Linked DNA regions of Homo sapiens: regions 1 and 2 are each linked to region 3. Evidence: promoter capture Hi-C in 16 types of primary human blood cells and fetal thymus (Javierre and others, 2016). All regions are on one chromosome and are shown on one strand. The core of a region is centred on a gene start or on the middle of the fragment in contact, and the rest is flanking DNA. Distances in the headings are between cores, read along the strand shown. Region 1 holds the start of ASPDH (aspartate dehydrogenase domain containing). Region 2 holds the start of EMC10 (ER membrane protein complex subunit 10). Region 3 holds the start of GPR32 (G protein-coupled receptor 32).

What was found. The method cuts DNA at HindIII sites, captures the fragments that hold promoters and counts their contacts. A CHiCAGO score of 5 or more calls a contact.
Region 1: the fragment with the promoter of ASPDH here is called in contact with the fragment with the promoter of GPR32 in region 3 in 5 of 17 cell types (naive CD4 T cells, fetal thymus, naive B cells and 2 more); the score reaches 6.7 in naive CD4 T cells.
Region 2: a contact is called between the fragment with the promoter of EMC10 here and the fragment with the promoter of GPR32 in region 3, in 8 of 17 cell types (total B cells, naive CD4 T cells, naive B cells and 5 more). The highest score is 14.0, in total B cells.

Annotation. Positions count from the first base shown.
Region 1 is chr19:50,511,651-50,515,940 of GRCh38, forward strand. It overlaps ASPDH (aspartate dehydrogenase domain containing), which reads right to left and starts at 2,263. Exons shown (of 7, transcript NM_001114598.2): 1 at 2,122-2,263; 2 at 1,622-1,766; 3 at 1,277-1,361; 4 at 1,011-1,160; 5 at 710-930; 6 at 486-640; 7 at 1-123. The coding sequence starts at 2,173. The coding sequence ends at 80. The region is part of intron 1 of LOC124904747 (a long non-coding RNA gene); the gene reads left to right. RefSeq lists an enhancer at 146-735. The HindIII fragment of the contact is 8,504 bases long and covers 576-4,290 here.
Region 2 is chr19:50,474,311-50,478,764 of GRCh38, forward strand. It overlaps EMC10 (ER membrane protein complex subunit 10), which reads left to right and starts at 2,197. Exons shown (of 7, transcript NM_206538.4): 1 at 2,197-2,348; 2 at 3,619-3,691. The coding sequence starts at 2,235. GARIN5A (golgi associated RAB2 interactor 5A) reads right to left here and starts at 2,538. Exons shown (of 5, transcript NM_001308429.2): 1 at 1,820-2,538; 2 at 1,523-1,623; 3 at 1,015-1,193. The coding sequence starts at 2,078. RefSeq lists enhancers at 1,835-2,335, 2,202-2,401. The HindIII fragment of the contact is 4,707 bases long and covers 572-4,454 here.
Region 3 is chr19:50,768,885-50,773,818 of GRCh38, forward strand. It overlaps GPR32 (G protein-coupled receptor 32), which reads left to right and starts at 1,580. Exons shown (of 1, transcript NM_001506.2): 1 at 1,580-2,848. The coding sequence starts at 1,717. The coding sequence ends at 2,787. The HindIII fragment of the contact is 17,473 bases long and covers 1-4,934 here.

The sequences.
Region 1 (4,290 bases), core at 1,013-3,512, 260 kb before region 3:
GAAGTGGGGCAGGGCAGGGGTGGGATGGTGGTGGTGAGAGGCCAGGCAGATGATCTTGTCTCGGGAGGGAGGAGGCTTCTCAGCAGAGATGGATCCCCGGCCTGGAGGGGAGCTGGCAGCAGGCTGCGGGGAGAGGGGAATGAGCGAATGAGACAGAGGAGAGATGAGGAGACAGACGCCTGGGGGAGGCAGTGGTGGGAGGAGGGGACAGGGCAGGGGGGCGGTGGAGGAAGACCCGGAGAGAGCGGGACAGAGCCCTGGGGGTGGACAGAGACAGAGAGAGTCTCGATCAGAGGCGGGCACAAATGGAGACATCTACAGTGCCAGGATTCAAAGTCATGGAGAGAGGTTAAGGAAATAAAGGTCAGAAAGAAAGAAAGGTCAACAAATACAGAACCAGAACTGCAGAACTAGTGAGAGCCCGGGACCCCCAAGCTCTGCAGAACACAGGAGCCCAGGGCCGGGGGAGAGGGGCCTGGCCGCACCCAGGAGGCTCTGCCAGAAGGCCGTGACGGTGGCGGAGCCGGTGACCGCGCCTGGCTCGGCAGGGTTCTCTCTGCGGGTGTGCACAGCAAAGCTTCGGCCCGTGGGGCCCCGGGGTCCGCTCAGCTCTACATCCACCACGTGCATGTCCGTGAGGCTGGGACAAGAGGGGCAGTCAGTCTGGAGAGCCTGGACTCAGCCCAACACCCTGCTTAGCTCTGCTCACCTGGTATCAGCCACGAGCACCCCAATCACCCCATCGAAGCCCAGGCTGGGGGCAGCCAGGGCAGCCGCCGCCATGGTGTTGGAATTTCGCGGGGCAAAGGGGCAGAGCCCACGGACAGGGCCTTCGTAGAGCACAGTGCAAGGCCCAGGGCTGTGGGCTGCAGCCAGGGGTCCCTCAAGCCGGAAGCCATCGGGGTGTGTGGCCATGGTGACACGAAGGCTCTGGAAGCAAGAGCCCGGGTTAGGGGGAGTGGGGTCTTTGCAGGCCTCCCCTGGTTCCTGGGGAGCCCAGCAGGCCTCACCCGGAGGCCCCCAGCTGCATCCAATCTCCTGATGTCCTCAGCGCCCCACAGGGCCCCTCGGGCCACAAACACGGCGTGGTCCCAGTGCTGTGAGGCCTCCAAGAGCTGCCGCTCTGTGGTCTGGTCACTTAGAGCTGAGGGGGACCCCACCTGGGGTGGATGAAGGAGGGGAGGGTTGAGGTCAGGGAAGGATATCCACTTCAGGGTGGGGTGAGACCAAGACAGAAGGGGCAGGGCTCTGCGTAAATGGTTGGGGTGGGGCTTACCAGGAGATTGGCATGGCGCAGGATTTGTGCCCCAGATTCATGGATTATTTTGGGATGGGCCACTTCCACAACCAGATCAGGGCGCCTGGGAGAGGGGAAAGAGGGCGGAGGGTCTTGGAGAGGTATTAGGCCTCTTCTCCCCAAGGTTCCCTCCGAGTCTACTGAGGGCTGCCCTTCTTCTCCCTGACCTGGGAGGCGAAATGAGATGAATGGGTTCGTCCTGTTTCACATTTGCTTGAACCAAGGCCCAGAGAGGGTCAGGGAACCCCTGAGATCACACAGTGGCTAAGAGAGCCAGGACAGGAGCTTCAGGGAGCTCCACTCTCCCATGGCAAGGTCACTGACCTTTCCCCAAGGGCAGCAAGGTTCTGGAGCTGCAGGGAAGGGGGCACGCTCCCTGCCATTCGTCCTGGGTCACGATTCCAGACAAAAACAAGTTCTAGGCCAAGTTCTGGTCCCTGAGCCAAGAGGCGGGAGACGAGGGACTGTCCTGGGGAGAGGGAAAGGAGAGGGCTAGAGATCCAGAGAGAGGGGGACAGAGACCCAGAGAGAGAGGAGGTGGGGACAGAGACCCAGAGAGAGAGGAGGTGGGGACAGACTCAGATTGCGGGGTAGGGAGACAGAGATGGGGGCAGGGCAGAGACACAGTGGGGTGGACAGAGGCCCAGAGAGAAGGGAGACAGAGACGGAGAGGACAGAGACCTGGGGTGGGGGTGCAGTGGGCAGACCCAGAGACACAGCCAGGGGCAGATAGAGAGAGAAAAAAGTGTTTGTGGAGGGCAGAGAGTCTTGGGAGCTTTAGGAAGGGGTTTGGGGAAGGAGGCCAAGGATGGTCAGGGACTCACCGAGGCGGCCATAGCCCACCACGCCCACCCTCCACGGGCCCCTGTCGGCCATGGCCCTGAGTGCGGTGTCTGGGGCCTGGCTCCCTGGGCTGCTCGCTGCCCGCTGCACAAGGCCTGGGCAGCCGCTGCTCTTTGGACATCTGACCCTTGAGCCTCTGGGCTCAGTCTTCCCCCTTCCCCGCAGGCCCAGCGTGGGGGCGTGGGCCTGCGGGAGTGGAGGCGGGAGAACCCTTCCCTGTGCTCTGTCCACTTTCCCGGGTCCAGCACAGTGAGCATGGTGACCGGGGGTTCTGGGAACCCTGCGTGCCCCCCTTTCCCCTGCAGCACACCCTCTTTCTCCCTGCTGATGTGGAAAGTTTCCTCTGCAGTCCCCTGCCCCCTCTCTGGCCGGCCAGGTTGTCATGGAAACTGCATCTTGCTTTGGGTTGGGAGAAGAGATGGTGACAGGGACTCTGGGCTCTGTCTGTCCCCTCGTGCTCACCTCTCCTCCTTGTCCTCAGGCGGCTAAGGTCTGAGGGAGGCTTCAGCCTGGCCGTGGCCCTAGCCCTCCCAGAGGCAGCGGGAGCCCTGGTTGTGGCTTCTCCTCAATGTGCCCTTGCCTCAGCGGGTCCAACCTCCCTAGCCCCGCTGCGCAGCACGGGTCCCCTTCCCACAGCCTCCGCCCCTGTCCACAGCCTCCCTCCGCTCTGATCATCCTTCAGTTCACCTTGACTTGCTACCTTTCACTCTGTCCCCCATCGTGCCACCAGCTGCCTCCAGTGTGACGTTCTCGCTCCCACGTCCGTCCCTCCCGTTCCCCAGCTCGCGTCAGCCCAGGAGAAGCCTTCGAGGCCTGGAGAGGCCAAGTGCCCCCAACATGAGCCCCAGCCTCTGTGCCTTGAGGGTGCCTGGCATCGGAAATGGCGCAGGCTGCGGCAGCGCAGGCTCCCTGCCCCCAGCCACCACCTGGTACCCGCTGCAGTGTTTCCATGGCAACCAGGATTGGCGCTGGAAGGAGGCTGGAGAGAAAGAGAGCGTGAACGGGAGCATGGGGTGGGGGGGGCGGGCACTGGGTGGCGAGAGCCCCAAGTTGACGGGAGGAGAGAGGAGACAGACGCGGGCAGACAGAGAGGGGCCAAGACCCCGACGTGGCACCCAAAGGCTGCCGCTGCTGATAAGGGAGGAATTGGCTTCCAGAGCCAGGAGCCCCCGGTGTGGGAGAGATGAGATGCCTGGGTGTAGACAGAGCCAGGAAGGGGGCAGGGGCCAGGCACCTCACGGAAGTGGGGGGCCTCCCGCCATCTCTACCTTCTGACTCCTGCTGGGGCCTGAGTGTCCCCATAGTGCCCATAGCTGCCGTGTACGGGGTACAGCCTGGGCCACTACGAGGGGAGAAGGGGGCTGGGCGCAGGCCTGTGTGTCCTCAGGGCTGTGTCCCCGAAGCCACCTCAGCGTGGGAAAGCACTGGAAGGCCCTGCATGGCTCCGTCCCTCCCTCTGCCTCCCCCAGCAGCGTGAGATGGCAGCCCTGGCCAGCCCCAGCCCTCCAGGGCCTGCAACTCGGGCACCTTGACCCCCCAAGAGACATCACCACCCCCTCCCCCAACCCACCCAACAGCTGCCCACTGTGCCAGCAACCCCCCAGCCAGGCCCGCTCAGGGTTTGCTCCCTGCCCTCCCAGGGCTCTGCTCCTGCCCTTCTGAGTGGCACTGTGGTGCCCCTGCCGCCCCAGGCCCACCCGATCCGGCCCTCCAGCCTCCCACTGAACCGGCCAGAAATACAGCTGCTGTGCCCCAGAGGCCGCAGGCCCAGCCTCCCGCTTGGCCTCCCTCCCCTTCGGCACCCCGTCCTCTGGAGCAGCCTTGAGGGGGTCTGCAGTGGAGAGACACACTCTGGATTGGGCCCTGTTGTGGGTTGAATTGTCACCCAGAAAGGGAAGCGCAGAAGTCCTGACCTCCAGGGCCTCAGAATGGGACCTTATTTGGGAATTGGGTTTTTGCCAAGGATGGAGCTGAGGTTATACTGGAGGTGGAGGCTCCTGGTCCAGTCTGACCTCTGTCCTTGTAAGAGGGGAGGTTAGGCAGGCTGCAGTGGCCCACACCTATAGTCCCGACACTTTGGGAGGCTGAGGCAGGTGGATCACTTGAGGTCAGAAGTTCGAGACCAGCCTGGCCAACATGGTGAAACCCCG
Region 2 (4,454 bases), core at 947-3,446, 290 kb before region 3:
CTGGGATTACCGGCGCCCGCCACCACACCTGGCTAATTTTTTTTTTTTTTTTTGAGATGGAGTCTCGCTCTGTCGCCCAGGCTGGAGTGCAGTGGCGCAATCTCAGCTCACTGCAACCTCCGCCTCCTGGGTTCACGCCATTCTCCTGCCTCAGCCTCCCGAGTAGCTGGGACTACAGGCGCTCACCACCACGCCCGACTAATTTTTTGTATTTTTAGTAGAGACGGGGTTTCACTGTGTTAGCCAGGATGGTCTCGTTCTCTTGACCTCGTGATCCACCCACCTCAGCCTCCCAAAGTGCTGGGATTACAAGCGTGAGCCACCGCACCCGGCCCTGGCTAATTTTTTGTATTTCTGGTAGAGACAGGGTTTTGCTATGTTGGCCAGACCGGTCTCAAATTCCTGGCCTCAAATGATCTGCCTGCCTTGGCCTCCCAAAGTGCTGGGATTACAGGTGTGGGCCACCGCACCCGATCTGCATTACTTTTTCAATGAAAAAATATGACGTAAAGGGGCAGTGTGGAGTGAGGCACAGGAGGGCTCAAGAACCATGAGATCCACAATCATGACAAGCTTGGCATTCCAATCCTGGCCCACTCTGGAGCCACAGTGGGACCCTGGGCAACTGGCTCCCGGCTCTCTGAGCCTCAGTTTAGCTCTTTGGCGGATGGGGCTAAGGGACCCCACCATGTGAAGATATGAGGTCAGAGGTGAGATCGTATGCGCGGCCTAGGGGCGTCTGGCATGAGCAGGCCCTGCGGAAATGATCATTCTCCTGACCGCTGCTGGGGCATGGCTGAGGACTGTCCCCTTCAGGTCTGTCTAATCTCTGATTTCTGGCCCCTGAGGGCTGCTCTGTCCTTGTTCTCCCGGGTAGATGGCAGCTCAGGGAGGGCCGGTAGCACTGCCAGCTCCTGGCCCTGGGGGTGGTCTGGACGAGGGGAGGTACTGCTGGGGGCTCAGGTGCCTGGAGCTGAGGGAGGAAGGGGTCTCGGCTGAGGTGGGGGCAGTTACCCGAAGAGTTGCAGGTGTCCGTTCTCCTTGGCAGGGCCGGCCAGAAGCAATAGGTCCGGGAGCTCCAGGGCTGGACTGGAGGCTGCCACCCCCATGGTGACCTCGTTGGCAACTTCTCCCAACCGAGTCACCTGGGGCCAGAGGTCAGAGGTCGGGGCAGGATAGATGTCGGGGCAGAACTGAGGAGGGATCAGAGGTTAGGAATCTTGGTAGGGGAAAAGGTCATGAACCAGGTGAGTTGAAAATCAGGCTGGGGGCCAGATATCTTGAAATTAAAGTTCAAGAATCATATGGGTGTGAAGTCAGGGAAACTGAGGCAAGGGAGTTACAGGCCAGGGTTCACAAAGAATCTAGAGAACTAGAAGTATGGGGTGTCAGAGATCACATAGGAGTTGGGAGTCGGGAATCCCACGAGATGGACGTTATGGGGGAGCAGGGGCTTTCCAAGTCAGGAGGAGGTCGAGGGGCAGGCCGAGGCTGGGGATGAGGGGGTTCTGGGGCTCCCTACCTGTACGAAGTTGCTCTCAAAGATGGGGAAGTCCCGAAACTGGTCGAATTCGCCGCTCTGGAGGTAGCGTTGGAGCCGTCTGGGACGGCCCGTGGGAGAGGCTGCAACCAGGAGGCATTTTACCAGGACGAAGTCTGGGGGTCGATCCTGGGAGGCTGTGCCTGGCTTCCCAACTGAGAGGGCCCGGCACAGCCCCGCGGAGAGGACGGGGTATCAGATGCCCCCGAATTGCCGGCCCCATCCTACTTGGTTCCTTCACCAGGTCCAACCCCTCTAGGCCTGGCTCCCCTCTCTCACCTGCCATCCCACCTGGTTCCACCTCGCCAGCTCCACCCAGGGCCGGCTTAGGGCCGCGATCCCGCCTCATTGCAATGTCCCCGTCCGACGGGAGCGGACGGAGGAGCAGAGGGAGAAAGCGAGGGGGCGGGACTACGCGCACTGTGACGTCATGATGCGGAGCGGGCTTTATGACGTCACACAAGAGCGGGCTCCTGATTTGTGATGACGTCCCTGGAGGGGGCGGCTCCTGGAGATCAGGCCAAAGGGGCGGCCCCATCCTGCTGACGTCAGGCCCCAGGTGCGGACGGGTGCCAGTGCGCAGGTGCCGGGGCCCAGCGCAGGCGCACGGGCGTCAGGATGCGGCCTGTTCCTCCCGGCGTGCTCCGCGGCTCTTGGCTCACAGCCGTCCCTTCGCTGGTGGGAAGAAGCCGAGATGGCGGCAGCCAGCGCTGGGGCAACCCGGCTGCTCCTGCTCTTGCTGATGGCGGTAGCAGCGCCCAGTCGAGCCCGGGGCAGCGGCTGCCGGGCCGGGACTGGTGCGCGAGGGGTGAGTGCTCTTTAGCTGTGCATAGCGGGCGCGGTCTACGGATGTCGCAGGTCTTGGGTCTTTAGGTGAGTTACAGACGGAAGGAGGCTGCGCAGGGCTGAGAGGGAAGAGGTGGGAGATCCCTGGAAAGCCAGGCCTCAGTCACGCACGCGCAGGAGGGGCCTCGCCAGTGCACCGGGTTGCAAGGACTGGGTGGGAGGACAAGCGCACCTGTCGGAAGGCTCTGGCTCGGGAATATGTATGAGGGGGCGGGGCTGGGGGTGTGGAATCTTGGAGAATCCGACGTCCGGGCGGTTGAAATGAAAGAGGCAAGGTGAAGCCGGGCGCGGTGGCTCATCTGTCATCCCAACGCTTAGGGAGGCCGAGGCGGGAGGATTGCTCTAGGCCAGGAGTTCAAGACCAGCCTGGGCAACATAGCGAGCCCTGTCTCTACAAAAAATACTAAAAAAAAAAAAAAAATTAGGCCGGTCGCGGTGGCTCATGCTTGTAATCCCAGCACTTCGGGAAGCCGAGGCGGGCGGACCACTTGAAGTCAGGAGTTCAAGACCAGCCTGCTCAAAATGGTGAAACCCCGTCTCTACTAAAAACACAAAAATTAGCTGGATGTGGTGGCAGGTGCCTGTAATTCCAACTACTCGGGAGGCTGAGGCAGGAGAATCGCTTGAACCCAGGAGGCAGAGGTTGCAGGGAGCTGAGATCACGCTACTGCACTCCAGCCTGGGCGACTGAGCGAGACCCTGTCTCAGAAAAAGAAAATAAGGCGTGGGAGGGGGCTCTTGAGGAAGTGGAGATGAGTTTTGTCTCCTAAATATGCGTGAGTATGCAAGTTTGGAGGTTGGAGAAAAGGAAAGCATGAATCTTGAATGTGCTTAATAGGGACTGAACTCAGGCTGCATCTTGGCTATTGGGCTGTCAGGTGATAAGGAGGCCATTTGAATATTAGCATGAAAAAGAAGGCTTGGGAGAGGGAGAGTGTCATTTAACTCATGAGTATTTGTGGCGCAAGGCTTGGAAGTGACCTTGGGATAGTTGCTTTGGCAATGAGGTTAGGCATGTTTGTAGGGTCTGGTTTTCTGGGGGTGAGGGAGTGCAGAGTATGAATATTCATGAAATGGGTGGTTTCTAGTGAAATAAAGGCAAGCAGCAGTGATTAACTTGAAGATAAGGCTCCTCCCTCAGCCCACCAGTCTGTCTGTCCTGGGTTCTGTGGGTGACTACTATGCTGAGGGCTTGGGTGGTCCTCACCTGGGGCCTTCTGTGTCCTCTGCAGGCTGGGGCGGAAGGTCGAGAGGGCGAGGCCTGTGGCACGGTGGGGCTGCTGCTGGAGCACTCATTTGAGATCGGTGAGTCAGGCAACGTCCTCTCCTAGACACTTAACATTGGTGCCCTGAGAAGTCAAGACTTGGAGTCTGGGTGCCTCCCGTCGTATGACATTTACTAACAACCATTTACTAACAGATTTGCCTCAGGTTAGGGGAAAGTGGGACATGAAAGAAGAGAAACACTCTTTAAATGCCCCCTTGCCTGTGAGACAAACCTCAGTTTTTAAAAGGTCATCACAGCAGTAATAATTTCAGAGCGGCTTTCCTGATCAGTCGCCACGTGCCCAGCATTAGCGGTTCCACGCTTTGCAAGTATTAACTCAGATGTCCTCACAGCAGCCATGTGAGGTGGTAGGTATTCGTGTCAGCCCCTTTTTCCAGAAGAGGAAACGGGCTCAGAGTAGGCACCACACAAGGTCTCATCGTGAGTGAGTGGCAGAGCAGGGGCCAGCTTCAAACCCAAACTTAAATTGCCATGATGCAGGTGTCCAGGTTCCCAGAGCTGGACGTCAGTGCTGCCCAGAGTGTAGTAATCGAGTCTGAGGCCCCGAACCTGAGGGCACAAACCCTGAAGCTGGTGCCCCTCTGCAAACCCTGGCATCTGCTCAGTGAACAGCTCCCCTGATTCTGACATGGCCAGGTAGTTGGGAATTCCTGAACTCCACAGCCTCCGTATTTTGCAGTTGGGGAAGCTGAGGCTCAGAGAGGTTGTGTGGCTATCCCTGGGTCACCTGGTGAGGCAGAGGCAGGATTTGGGAGCTGTGGGGTTCATGCATCTGCTACG
Region 3 (4,934 bases), core at 330-2,829:
CACCATACCTGACTAATTTTTTTTTTTTTTTTTTTTGAGACAGAGTCTTGCTCTGTTGCCTGGGCTGGAATGAAGTGGCACGATCTTGGCTCACTGCAGCCCCTGCCTCCCAGGTTCAAGGGACTCTCCTGCCTCAGCCTTCAGAGTAGCTGGGATTACAGGCACGCACCACCAAGCCTGGCTAATTTTTGTATTTTTAGTAGAGACAGGCTTTTGCCATGTTGGCCAGGCTGGTCTCGAACTCCTGAACTTAAGTGATCCACCAGCCTCAGCCTCCCAAAGTGCTGGGATTACAGGAATGAGCCACTACGCCCATCTCACGGCTAATTTTTAAATTTTATTTTATTTTTATTTTTTTGAGACGGAGTTTCGCTCTCGTTACCCAGGCTGGAGTGCAGTGGCGCGATCTTGATTCACTGCAACCTCCGCCTCCCAAGTTTAAGTGATTCTTCAGCCTCATGAGTAGCTGGGATTACAGGTGGCTGCCACCACACCCAGCTAATGTTTTTTGTATTTTTAGTAGAGACGGGGTTTCGCCATGCTGGGCAGGCTGATCTCGAACTCCTGACCTCAGGTGATCCGCCTACCTCAGCCTCCCAAAGTGCTGGGATTACAGGCGTGAGCCACTGTGCATGGCCACAAAAACTTGTAATTATTTATTTTTTGTAGAGACGGTCTCACTATGTTGCCCACCTTGGTTTGGAACTCCTGGCTTCAAGCAATCCTTCTGCCTCAGCCTCCCAAAGTGTTGTGATTACAAGCATGAGCCACCACACCTGGCCCCTCCATTTCATTTATTATTTTTCCATAACACTTGTAGTCTTCTAAAGCAGTATATCATGAAGTAAATTTATTATATGTATTACACCTGACATCTCTCACTGGGATGTAAGTTCCATGAGGGCTTGTTTTGTTACACGAGTTATGTCCAGTACTTAGAACAATATTATAGTGTCCAGTGAGCCGAGATCGTGCCATTGCACTGCAGCCTGGGTGACATAAGGAGACTCTGTCTCAAAAAAAAAAAAAAAAAAAGAACAATATTATTGTGTCATAAAAAGCATTCAGGCTGGGCTCAATGGCTCACACTTGTAATCCCAGCACTTTGGGAGGCTGAGGTGGGAGGATCACTTGAAGCCAGGAGTTCAAGACCAGCCTGGGCAACACAGCAAAACCCCATCTCTACAAAAAAGAATTTAAGGCCTGGCAGAGTGGCTCACACCTATAATCCCAGCACTTTGGGAGGCTGGTGGACGGGTCACGAGGTCAGTAGTTCAAGACCAGCCTGGCCAACATGGTAAAACCCTGTCTCTACTAAAAACAGAAAAATTAGCCAGGTGTGGTGGCATGTGCCTGTAGTTCCAGCTACTTGGGAGGCTGAGGCAGGAAAATTGCTTGAACCTTGGAGGTGGAGGTTGCAGTGAGCCGAGATCATACCATTGCACTACAGCCTGGGTGACAGAGAGAGCAAGACTCTGTGTCAAAAAAAAAAAAAAAAAAAAAAGGTAAAAAAATTAGCCAGGCATGGTGGTAAGTGCCTGTAGTCCCAGCTACTCCAGGAGGCTGAGGGGGGAGGATCTCTTGAGCCTAGGAGGTGGAGGCTGCAGTGATCTGTGATTGTACCTTTGCACTCCAGCCTGGGTGACAGAGCATGACGCTGTCTCTAAAAGAATAATAATAATAAGCATTCCATAAAAATTATGGAATGGAGAAATCATGAATGGGGTCTCGGAGGGGACCAGAGGCTGCAGTGACAGGCAACCTGGGGTCCTGACACGTGATCGCTCTTGTTCCAGGAAGATGAACTCTTCCGGATGCCTGTCTGAGGAGGTGGGGTCCCTCCGCCCACTGACTGTGGTTATCCTGTCTGCGTCCATTGTCGTCGGAGTGCTGGGCAATGGGCTGGTGCTGTGGATGACTGTCTTCCGTATGGCACGCACGGTCTCCACCGTCTGCTTCTTCCACCTGGCCCTTGCCGATTTCATGCTCTCACTGTCTCTGCCCATTGCCATGTACTATATTGTCTCCAGGCAGTGGCTCCTCGGAGAGTGGGCCTGCAAACTCTACATCACCTTTGTGTTCCTCAGCTACTTTGCCAGTAACTGCCTCCTTGTCTTCATCTCTGTGGACCGTTGCATCTCTGTCCTCTACCCCGTCTGGGCCCTGAACCACCGCACTGTGCAGCGGGCGAGCTGGCTGGCCTTTGGGGTGTGGCTCCTGGCCGCCGCCTTGTGCTCTGCGCACCTGAAATTCCGGACAACCAGAAAATGGAATGGCTGTACGCACTGCTACTTGGCGTTCAACTCTGACAATGAGACTGCCCAGATTTGGATTGAAGGGGTCGTGGAGGGACACATTATAGGGACCATTGGCCACTTCCTGCTGGGCTTCCTGGGGCCCTTAGCAATCATAGGCACCTGCGCCCACCTCATCCGGGCCAAGCTCTTGCGGGAGGGCTGGGTCCATGCCAACCGGCCCAAGAGGCTGCTGCTGGTGCTGGTGAGCGCTTTCTTTATCTTCTGGTCCCCGTTTAACGTGGTGCTGTTGGTCCATCTGTGGCGACGGGTGATGCTCAAGGAAATCTACCACCCCCGGATGCTGCTCATCCTCCAGGCTAGCTTTGCCTTGGGCTGTGTCAACAGCAGCCTCAACCCCTTCCTCTACGTCTTCGTTGGCAGAGATTTCCAAGAAAAGTTTTTCCAGTCTTTGACTTCTGCCCTGGCGAGGGCGTTTGGAGAGGAGGAGTTTCTGTCATCCTGTCCCCGTGGCAACGCCCCCCGGGAATGATGGAAGACTTCAGCTGGAAGCTGGAAGCCGTCCTTCTTAGTTTGCTTGTGGCCTCTTACCTTGACTGGCTTCTAAAACCCTGCCAAATCCTGCCTCTTCTTTCAGGAAGTCTTCCAGCAACCCCTCATCTAAAGCTCTGTGGTAGAGACAGCTACTTACTCCCCAGTGTCCATTCTTCCCCGCCCCCCCCCCCTTTTTTTTTTGAGATAGAGTCTTGCTCTGTCACCAGGCTGGACTGCAGTGGCGCGATCTCGGCTCACTGCAACCTCTGACTTTCTGGTTCAAGCAATTCTGCCTCAGCCTCCCGAGTAGCTGGGATTACAGGCACGTGCCACCACGCCCAGATAATTTTTGTATATTTTTTAGTAGAGACGGGGTTTAACCACGTTGGCCAGGATGGTCTCAATCTCCTGACCTTGTGATCCGCCTGCCTCGGCCTCCCAAAGGGCTAGGATTACAGGCGTGAGCCACTGCACCTGGCCCATTCTTTCCCTCTCTTTTTCTTTTTTTTAAAAATTTTTTAAAGACAGGGTCTGATTTTGTCACCCAGGCTGGAGCGCAGTGGCAAAATCTCGGCTCACTGCAGCCTTGACCTTCAGGGCTCAAGCCATTCTCCTGCCTCAGGACTCCCCACGCCCCACCCCCCACCTCCCCTCACCCTGCCTAGTACCTGGGACTATAGGCATGTGCTACCTGGGTAATTTGTAGACACGGGGTTTCATCATGTTGCCCAGAGTGGTCTCAAACTCCTGAGTTCAAGTGATCCTCCAGCCTCGGCTCCCAAAACTACTGGGATTACAGGTGTGAGCCACAGCACCTGGCCTCCCCTTTTTTGGTAGTAAAACTCCTGTGTTCTAATGAGGCACGGTGCTTAACTAGAAAAAAGGAAAGACTACATTTCCCAGTATCCTTTGCATGTAGGTACAACCATGTGACTGCTTTCTGACCAATAGGATGTAAGAGGCAGCAATCAATGTAACTTCCTTCAAGGGCCCCTTAAATGGAAGGGGTCTGCCCTCCATTTCCCCATTTCCCCCTTTCTATTGTCCGGAATGCAGATGTATCAGTTACCTTTTGCTGTGTAACAAAAACCTTCCATGTTTAGAGGCTTAAAAATATAAGTTTTTTTTTTTTTTCTGATAGGGTCTTGCTCTGTTGCTCAGGCTGGAGTGCAGTGGTGTGATCACAACTCACTGCCACCTCAATCTCCCAGGCTCAAGTGGTCCTCTCACCTCAGCCTCCTGAGTAGCTGGCATGTGCCACCCCATGCCAGGCTAATTTTGTATTTTCAGTAGAGATGGGGTTTCTCCATGTTGGCCAGGCCGGTCTCAAAATCCTGACCTTGAATGATCTGCCCGCTTCAGCCTCCCAAAGTGCTGGAATTACAGGCATGAGCCACCACACCTGGGCAGAACTACTTCTTTGAATCATGAGCAAGTGGTGTGACAGCTTCTGGATTGCATGACATTTTTCTTTTGCCTCGACCTAGAGCCAAGGGAATGGCCTGTTGTGACCAGGGACCACTGGGACTTCAATCCCCAGAAAGGACTATTCTTTACATGCATCAGTTTGGTTTTGGGGTGTTTTAAGTAACAGAAAACCTGACTCCAACTGGCTTCAACAATAAGGAAATTTATCAAGTCACTTCACACAAGTTCCAGAGGTTGGCAGCATAATTAATAGTTAAGGGGTAGATTCAGCTGTTGCAGGAGAGACACAAAATAACAGTGGCTTCAATGAGCTGGGATTTGAAACCTCCCCTTTCACAACCTGGGTGTAAGCATCTCAGGGCTGGCCTAGGGACTCCCGGGGGACACGGTAGCTTTGCATCAGGGCTGCTGTGGCAGATTACACAAATGGCCCCCGTTCTGCATACCTTCCTGCATGCGTGCTCCTTAGCAATGTCACTCTTTAGATTTTCCCATCAAGGGGTGGAGTCCTTTCCTCACACCTTGAATCTAAGCCAGGCTCGTGACTTGCTTTTTGACCAGTAGCTTGAGTGCTAGTCACCTTGTGCAGAGTTCTGAGCCTCCCCCTCATACTTTCCTTACTCTTGGAACCCTCCCCAACCATCACACGAAAAAGCCAGCCTGCAGGATGATAAGAGCTATGTCTCTAGTAAACATACAAAAATTAGCCGGGCATGG